2 separate regions of the Homo sapiens genome follow, and region 2 is linked to region 1. Evidence: promoter capture Hi-C in 16 types of primary human blood cells and fetal thymus (Javierre and others, 2016). All regions are on one chromosome and are shown on one strand. Each heading gives the region's core, a stretch centred on a gene start or on the middle of the fragment in contact. The rest is flanking DNA. Distances are from core to core; before and after follow the strand shown. Region 1 holds the start of VAV3 (vav guanine nucleotide exchange factor 3). Region 2 has its middle 6.7 kb from the start of FNDC7.

Region 1 (4,699 bases), core at 1,213-3,712:
TCATAGGACATTACAGGAGAAACTGTACTTAATTTGGAACCAGAAACCTCAAGGTTGAACAGACTTAAGAACTCAAAAGTGCAACGGCACAAAGAAGGTCATTAGCTGTCCTACTTACCTTATTATAACCCAGTGATTTACCATCTGATAGCATAGTGTAATAATTCCTTTAGGGCAAGTATCCTGGTGTGCTCATTTTGCTACCCCCACTAGGGAACAGAACTCTTAGAGCATTGTATGTGCTCAATTTTCATTAATGATGCTTATAATGACAATCTTTGGTCATCAGAAAGATTAAATTACATCTAACATAAGAGGAGAAGAGTGAAACACATTCAAAACGATTCTCATCCATTGTTAGCATTCAAATAAAGGCTTCGAGGTTTAAAAAGGTCTTCAGCTGTCCAGAAAACGTGATTATTGAGAGCAACTGCTGAGAGTTCCAGGAAACAAGTTCCAGGAAATGTGCACAGTACTGTACTCCCTACTGGTGGGCCAAGGCATCCTGACCCACGCTGCCTCCTGAGGCTACAGGCAAAGTGGAAAATGGGGATGTGTGAGAGTAGCTAACTGCAGCTCCCACCATAATAGAAAAGTCTGCCAAACCCCTCAAAGGAATTTCCAGAGTTGAGACAACTCTGAAGGGGTACCGAGAGGTAGCAATCACCATGCATGTTTATGGGGGTATAAAATAATTTACCTCACTTTTAAATACGTATGGCTCTCCCCACTTCCATGCCTGTTCTTTCTTAGGGACTGCCCACCAGCAGGTTGAAGGCAAACAGGCAAGGAATGCAGAATCTGAAGTGCAGGGGACCCTGATGAAACACTGACACCAAGAATCACAGATGACTGTGTGTGCTCTAACTTTAAATACATACTTATTAAATCATATAAAGTCCGTTCCTTCTTAAAAGGCGCTGCTCTGGTTGCTAAGTAGCTGAGGCTCTGCGTCATAGAGGATTAGTGCTGAAATGTGTCAGGGAGAGGGCTCTGTCCTCTCCCTTTTAAGTTGAAAGCAGTTTGGTTTTTTGTTTTGTTTTAACATTCTGAAAGAGAAAGAGGCTCTGAACCGAGTTTAACATCCTTCTGTACAAAAATTTTCCGACAGGACAAATAAACTACTCTTCCACTGAACTGTGACTTTTGAGCTGACTCTAGGGTGCACCCAACCTTCCAGAGGTGTCTGGCTTAACCCTCAAAGAGGCAGCTCCAGCCCCAGGAGCCGACCGGCACCACAGCACCTGAGCAGGGCACTGCAGGAAGGAAAGCGGAATCTCTAGTGAAACTTCTCATTTCCTGTCGCTGCTGAGAGAGGCTGGACTCGCTCCTTCTCACATGGCTTAGGAAGAGCTGTAAACGGGAGCTTGCCGGCTGGCCACCAGCTCAGGGGCCCTGGGGGCGGCCTCCGGGTTCTGCTCCCTGTTCTTCCCTTTGACCAATGTCACTCCTGGACAGATAACGGGACCAAACGCCCTTCACTTCCTCGAGTCCTCATGTATGTCATGGTTCCTCTTTTAGGAAAACATGAGTACAAGACGCAAAGCAAAAGAAGAGACTAAAGGCAAATTACCCCATCACCTCGTTTCGTCCCTCCCCTTCGTTATTATAGAAGAGCTTGATCAAATTCCCTTTGTCGCGCCACACACACGCAGAGTAGGTGAAGGGCACCCTAAGACAACTTATTTCTTTCCCGCCTCACAGAAAGCCTTTACGAAATCCTCACACCATCTCCGGACGCAAAGCTTTCGCATTCAGCTTGAGGAGCTAAACCATTTCAAGCCAAGGTAGGAAACGCCAAAGTGGTGCCGAAGTGGTCCCAAAGCAGAAGGCTGGGAAGCAGGGCAAGCTCAGCGCACCTAGACGTTTGCATTTACACAAAGAAATTAGCCGCATGATTAATGGGAGCTGCCGGCTGGAGGCGGGGCGCCCGTGCCGGCCTCCTCACCTGGGACATCTGCGGCCTCAGGTTGATCTCCTTCAGGTTGATGGAGTGCGCCCGGAGGTTGTTAAGCAGCTGGCAGAGCAGGACTCCATCGCGGAGGGTCTGCGCAAGGTCGAACACCTGAGCCGAGTCCCAGGTCACCCGGTGGTTGGTGGGCAGCACCTTGCAATGGATGAGCCACTGCGCGCACTGCTTCCACGGCTCCATGCCCGACGGCTCCGGGACGCGGCTGGGCCGGGGCGGGCGGCAAGGATGCGGCCGCCGCCGCCGCCGCCGCGGTTCCTCCGCGCCCCGCCGACGCCAACAGCCGCCGGCCCTTTCCCCGCGCGGGATCGAGGGAGCAGGAGCCGCGGCTGACGGGTCGCGGGCGCCGCGCTAGGCTCGGCTCCGGTCCCGGCCCGGGTGCGCCGCGACCCGGCCGCCGCTGCAGCGAGTCCCGCGCGCTCTCCGTGCGCCCCGGCCGGCTCGGCGGCGGCTGCCGCGCACAGGCTTCCGACTCCAGCGCCCGGCCCGCCACTGAGCATGCCCAGCACGCCGGCCGGTCTCGCTGCGGTCCGCAAGTCCCCAGACGCGCGGGTGGGAGCGCGCCGGCGGCCGGGGCTGGGGTCTGTGGCCGAGGGCGGGGCGCGGGGGAGGGGCCGGCGGAGGGGGGCGGCGGCCAGAAAGGGGATCCCGCGCCCCCGCCTGCAGCCTTGCGGGGCTCACGCAGCCCCCGGCGTCCTGGGGTCTTCTCTCGGGGCGGCTTCCCGGCTTTGCGGGGAGTGTGGCTGAATACTGTAATACGATGGGGTCCCCCAGGACCCCCTAAACAACAAATGCTCAAAGGAGCGACGGATTAATTGGGGCACCCAGACTCCCCAGAGCAATGAAAAAAGTGCCTAGAGCATCAGTAGAGCACGGCGCTGAAAGTTTTAGAGATCGTCGCCCCCTCGCCCCTTGCAGCTCTATCCCCTCCATTCTCTATAGCTGATTCCTCAGCCTATTCCTCCTAGTTGCCCCTAGTGGTGTTTTGGCACCCTCAAAGTGAGTGAGAGTGCGTGTGTGGAGACGCCTGCGGAAACCGCCCCGATCCCTGAGCCTATTTCCTCGCGAGGTGATTTTCACTTGGAGCTGGTTTGCCCCTGCACTGTCAGGCTCGGAACTGTTTGCCGTTGCTGTTCTGGCCCTTTTGCTGACCCCACAAAAACCTGCTTGAGAAAGGCCTGTGCCACGGTGCTAGACTGCGCATGCGTCGGCGACTGGCGGCCGGGTTTGAGAGCAAAGCGCGTTAGCCCTGGGCAGCTCCTGCCGGGCTGTTCTGGGATCCTTAGTGAAAGTTGGAACTTGACCCCAGAACTTTTGCGCAGTGCACAAGCAGTGCATTCGTGTTTCTTAAGTAAATCTTTTGGAGACTCTAAACCCTACCCCTTTTACTCCCACTGCACACTGCCCCTCAAAACCACAATTAATGTTTAAATTATTTGTGGCAAGATATTGCCACAGTGAATTATTGCTGTTCGATAGGAATGTGGTCCTTCGTCACCCTTTTGAGATGCATTCACTTAAAATTAGAAAATAGGCCGGGCGCGGTGGCTCACGCCTGTAATCCCAGCACTTTGGGAGGCCGAGGCGGGCGGATCACGAGGTCAGGAGATCGAGACCATCCTGGCTAACACGGTGAAAACCCGTCTCTACTAAAAATACAAAAAATTGGCCGGGCGTGGTGGCACGCACCTGTAGTCCCAGCTGCTCGGGAGGCTGAGGTAGGAGAATCGCTTGAACCCATGAGGCGGAGGTTGCGGTGAGCTGAGATCCAGCCACTGCACTCCAGCCTGGACGACAGAGCCAGACTCTGTCTCAAAAAACAAACAAACAAACAAACAAAAAGATGGGAGTTTGGATAATTTAATTGTATTATATTTCTGTAGCCCAAATTTTTTATTACGAACCATGCTTTATAAGCAGGCCAAAATATTATTTTTAAAAGAATGATCTGTTCAGGATAGTGATTGCGTCCTTTTTCGTTTGGCTGTGACAAGGATAGCACACTGTTTACACTCAGCGCTGAACAATAAATCAGCCTGAGGATTTCCTTTCCTCACACGCATCCTTCCCTAGCAATTTCCTCTTGTGTTCAATGCGGATTCCATCAATAGCACGACATTTTCTAGGCCATAATTTTGGCAAATAAATCATACTAATCTCTACATACCTTTAGAAGCAAAATCCAACACATTTGAATCACCATTTAACACAGTCTTTCATAAAGAGAAATTAAAAAGAAATTTCATTAAACGGGTCAAAATTTAAACTAAAACTATGAATTTTTTTCAGGTAGCATCAGATCACCTTTGGATGTTGGAGAATATTTCCAAAATCCACATTATATACACTATCCCAGGACGCAAATCTGGATTTAGAGCCCGAGCTGTACTGCTTTCTAGCAACATGACCTTGGATAAATTCTCTACAGTTCAGTTTCCATAGATACGAAATAAGAAATTTTTTTTTTTTTTTGTGGGGGGTGGACGGAGTCTCGCTCTGTCGCTCAGGCTGGAGTGCAGTGGCGCGATCTCAGCTCACTGCAAGCTCCACTTCCCGGGTTCACGCCATTCTCCTACCTCAGCCTCCCAAGTAGCTAGGACTACAGGCGCCGGCCGCCACGCCCGGCTAATTTTTTTTGTATTTTTAGTACAGACAGGGTTTCACCGTGTTAGCCAGAATGGTCTAGATCTTCTGACCTCGTGATCCGCCCGCCTCGGCCTCCCAAAATGC
Region 2 (4,265 bases), core at 1,135-3,634, 740 kb after region 1:
AACCTCAAACACTGACTAGTGGACCAATTCTCAGGTGATATTGGCCAACTGATGGGCGTTGATTCTGTTCCTAGTTTGATTCTATTACGTAAATGCTGAAATCAGCCTTGAATGACTAAATTATAGGACCTCTTAAGTAGAGATGATTTTACGTGGCAGGAAACGCTTCTTGGTAGTGTCACTCTGAAATTTCCCCTCCGTCATTCCACCCTATAAAGTCCCACAGTACTTTGCAAGTACCTCTGAAATGGCATTTATTGGGACCATTGTCACAACTGGAAAATGTTAGCATCATGGCTGACTTAAAATCCGTTATTTGATTTCTCAGAGTATTGATATTCAAAGCATTTCTATTTACATAATCATGATCCACAATGTGTAGCACAGATATGTATCCAGATGTGTGTGTTAGGGGGTGGGGGGTGCTTTTTCAGCCTATTGCATAAACAGAGAACTGACCTTACAGCATTTCATGTAAGCCCTGAGGTTTTGCCACAAGGATTGGAAAAAGAACTACTTATTGTAAAGAAATCCTCACATAAGCTTCCCTGATCTGCAGGTACTTAAAGTCCACCAATCTTCAGTTGGTTTTCCTTGGCTGATTCTTGTTCTGGCCATTCTGAAGCTGAATTATTTCTCTGTTTCTTGAGTCAGTGCAATTAGTCACACACATCCCTGCCCCGCCCTCCAACAAATTCCATCAGCTATGAACCTCTGACATCCAAAATAAACATATAATCTAAGTGAAAACAAGCAGTGCTTGCTGAGCAAATGCAAGGGAAGACCTCTTGTCTTCTCCTTCCCTCTTATTTAGAAATTTTGAAGTCAATGTCCTGGATATTCGACTATACCAATAGAGGGAAAATCTTAAATGCAACACTCATCCAGCCAATCCAGGTACTGGTTCGGTGAACATTTCCTGAATGAAGTGTTCCATGGGTTAGCCGAAACTTGTGCAGGGACAGCCAGTGATTTGTGGATGTGCCAGTTATTTATACATTTTCTAGCTCCACATCCACCTTTTATTTCCCTGCTTCGTGATTCTGGAGCTGGGCCTTTTAAACATTTTTCCATTGCCGGCTGGCATAATGTTAAGCGTGTCAGTGGAGCATGCTGGAGGGAGCTGCAGCAGAGAGGTGTGTTTTCTTTTTTCTTTTTGCTTCTCCATTGTGTAGGGGCCAGTGGCATGTAGAGCACCCAGCAATATATATCCCCCAGCAAATTTCAGTACCATCTCATTGAGAGAAGTGGGAGTTCCCCGCAAGTCCACGAGTCCCCTGCCCGCTTCCCAGCAAGTTTGCTAGTGCTCCAGCAGGCACCTGCCCAGGAGTTTCAGCAGGACCTCACAGGTTTCCCAGTAAGTCTCAGTGGCACCCCAGTGGGTGGCCTCCTAGCTACTTTTGTTGACACCTCTGCTCTCCAGCTCCAACCTTCAGCTTCTCAGCATTTGCTGAGAAGCCACAACTGCACCCTCGCCAACAAGGTCTGAATCTCAGTCTAGCAAGGGAACGTCTCCTAATGTTTTCGTTTTTTGTTTGTTTGTTTTGTTTTGGTTGTTATTGTTGTTTTAGACAGAGCCTTGCTCTGTCACCCAGGCTGGAGTGCAGTGGCACGATCTCAGCTCGCTGCAGACTCAACCAGGGCTCAAGCAATCCTCCAGCCTCAGCCTCCTGAGTGGTTAGGAAGGATTATTATGGGCGGGTGCCCCTACAACTGGCTGATTTTTATTTTTCTTCCTAGGGACTGGGTCTTACTGTGTTTCCCAAGCTGGTCTCAAACTCCTGGCCTCAAGCAATCCTCCCTCCTTGGCCTCCCAAAGTGCTGAGATTACAGATGTGAGCCACTGTGCCCAGCCACGTCCCCCACATTTGTTCTTTTCTTGGGTCCTCTGCCTCAGCACTAGAGGTAATGGCTGCTCCCTATATCCACTATTACTGTATTTTTTTAGCCTTCTCTTTACCTTTAGTAGTTAACCCCGTTACTGGTTAATAATTCTTTGTATCAAACTTTGCCTCTTGGAATTACTGTGTGTTTTCTGTCTCTGGACTGGACCCTGAATGGTACAATGTATTAAAATGATGCCAGTCATATGGATGCTCCCTCCTTTGGCTGGCTGATGAAGTAGTCTAGTATAAAGGGCTCAGCCCAAGAAGTTTGTTGAGAATTATGTAAGTGAATCAGACAGGCTTCTTTCAGAATTTTAACAGAAAACTAAGAATTGGCCAGTCCTTAGAAGAGTGGACAAGATGCATAGTTGTCTTACAACAGTGACCATGTAAAAGAGTCACCGGACCCTGAAGCTGCCTCACTTCCTGCTGGCTTTCTAGTTTTTTCCCAGTCTGGTCAGTGGATATCCTTGCAATTTCTCTGTTTTTCTTAAGGTGGCCTGAGTTTCTCTTCCCTGGAATACAGGAGCCTAACTCTGGTTTCTTTTATTGTAATAACCAGGAATCTCTGATCAGTAAGGGTCTTCCTGATATTTTCTAACATTGAGTTTTTAATCTGTTTATCCTTGTTAGTACCAGCAAGAAAATACCATCTACTTAATTTGAGTGAAGAAGAAAAAAAGTGGTGTGTGTTTGTGACAAAAAGTGGGGTTTGTTTGTTTGAGACATGGTCTTGCTCCGTTGCCCAGGCTGGAGTACAGTGGCACGATCGTGGCTCACTGTAGTCTCAACCTCCCAAGCTCAAGTGATCCTCCTACCTCAGCCTCCCAAGTAGCTGAGACTATAGGCACACACCACCACACCTGGCTAATTTTTTATAGAGGTGGGGTCTCACTGCATTGCCCAGGCTGGTCTGGAACTCTTGGGCTCAAGTAACCCTCCCACCTTGGCCTCCCAACATGCTGGGATTATGGGCATGAGACACCATGCTGGGCCCAAATAGGAAGTTTTATATGATTCCTCTTTTTTTTTTTTTTTTGGTGGAAATGGTCTGCCTTTGGCAGAAGGGGGATGTAAGGGCATGGTGGAAGACTACATTATGGATTAGGGCCACTAAAAATCTTGCAGTTTCCAATGTTTTCCTGGAGTTAATCCTACTCTACATTCCTTCTATATCCCTAAATATTTCTTTTTGATATCCCCTACAATGGCCACTTCAAATCTTTACTAGTTTCTGAAGTTCCTACTTCATCTCCATATTCATTTCATATTCATATTTACTGCAGCCTTGACCTCCCTGGGCTCAAGCACTCCTCCCACCTCAGCCTGCTGAGTAGCTGGGGCTACAGGCACACGCCACCCCACCTGGAGACTTTTTTATATTTTTGGTAGAGATGGGGTCTCTCCATGTTGCCCAGGCTGCTCTCAAACGCCTAGGCTCAAGTGATCCACCTGCCTTGGCCTCCCAAAGTGTTGGGATTATGGGCATGAACCAATGCGCCTGGCCACCTCTCTCTATATCTTTCCGTTACATGTCTTAAATTCTGCCCTTGGCTGATCTACCTATGCACCAGATCACATTTATTTATTCATTCATTTGTGTGGTAGACTGCCAATTGTTCCCCAATAGAGATTACTGGAATGTATCGTTAGTCTCTTTTATCTCCTCTCACTGAATTCTGCTGCTTAGAACTTTAATGTGATAGCTGGAACTTTATCTTGGACCAAGAAGGAGGGCCTCCTCCTAGGGATGGCAGACTAAAGAGGAAAAAGGAGCCTGGGTCTCTCAAGACTCCGTGGAATAGAATTGCCACGCCACTCCTGGAGGCTTTGCCTCTACTATTTTATATCAGGAAGAAACTTCTGGTTAAGCCACTGTTATAGGTTTTCTGTCCACTCTCAGCAAAACCTAATCCCGACTAATCACAGTTCTGAGATCTGGAATTGCACACCAAGTAACATAAGCTAAAGTAGTGCGCATGAGCTTAGTGAAGGAGGGTGGGTGTCAGGAAGCATCAACACAGGCATGTGTGGTCTGGAAAGTGGATGATTCTTGTGTGGAGCATCCTCACATTTTCTCCCTCTTCCGTTCCAGACTCTTATCTTTATCTTTTATTTTCAGTCCCTCTCCTGGCCTTTGCATTATTTACTAATCTTAAATTTGCTGATATTACCTTATTAGTACACTAATAATGTGTAAATAGACTTACTCTTGTAGCTATTTCCCCTCTTGGTTGTCTTAGCTCCATTCCCTTCAGTATCAAAATTCATGCATTCACTGCTTTGCAGAATCTCATTCCTGAAGCGAGAATTTCAGACAGCTGGTAAATTTAGTCATTCAAAGCTTTAAAGTAAATTCATATTACAAAAGCAACCGCT

Evidence for each region. Contacts are between HindIII fragments. The CHiCAGO score rates a contact against its expected background, and 5 or more counts as called.
Region 2: a fragment that was not itself captured here is called in contact with the fragment with the promoter of VAV3 in region 1 in 1 of 17 cell types (neutrophils); the score reaches 5.6 in neutrophils.

What each region holds. Positions count from the first base shown.
Region 1 is chr1:107,962,718-107,967,416 of GRCh38, forward strand. It overlaps VAV3 (vav guanine nucleotide exchange factor 3), which reads right to left and starts at 2,463. Exons shown (of 27, transcript NM_006113.5): 1 at 1,949-2,463. The coding sequence starts at 2,152. It overlaps VAV3-AS1 (VAV3 antisense RNA 1), which reads left to right and starts at 1,726. Exons shown (of 3, transcript NR_046653.1): 1 at 1,726-1,787. RefSeq lists enhancers at 1,474-1,603, 2,950-3,244, 3,180-3,249. The HindIII fragment of the contact is 4,630 bases long and covers 1,744-4,699 here.
Region 2 is chr1:108,704,039-108,708,303 of GRCh38, forward strand. No RefSeq gene overlaps it. Among named protein-coding and RNA genes, the nearest start is that of FNDC7, 6.7 kb to the right of the region's middle. The HindIII fragment of the contact is 3,687 bases long and covers 542-4,228 here.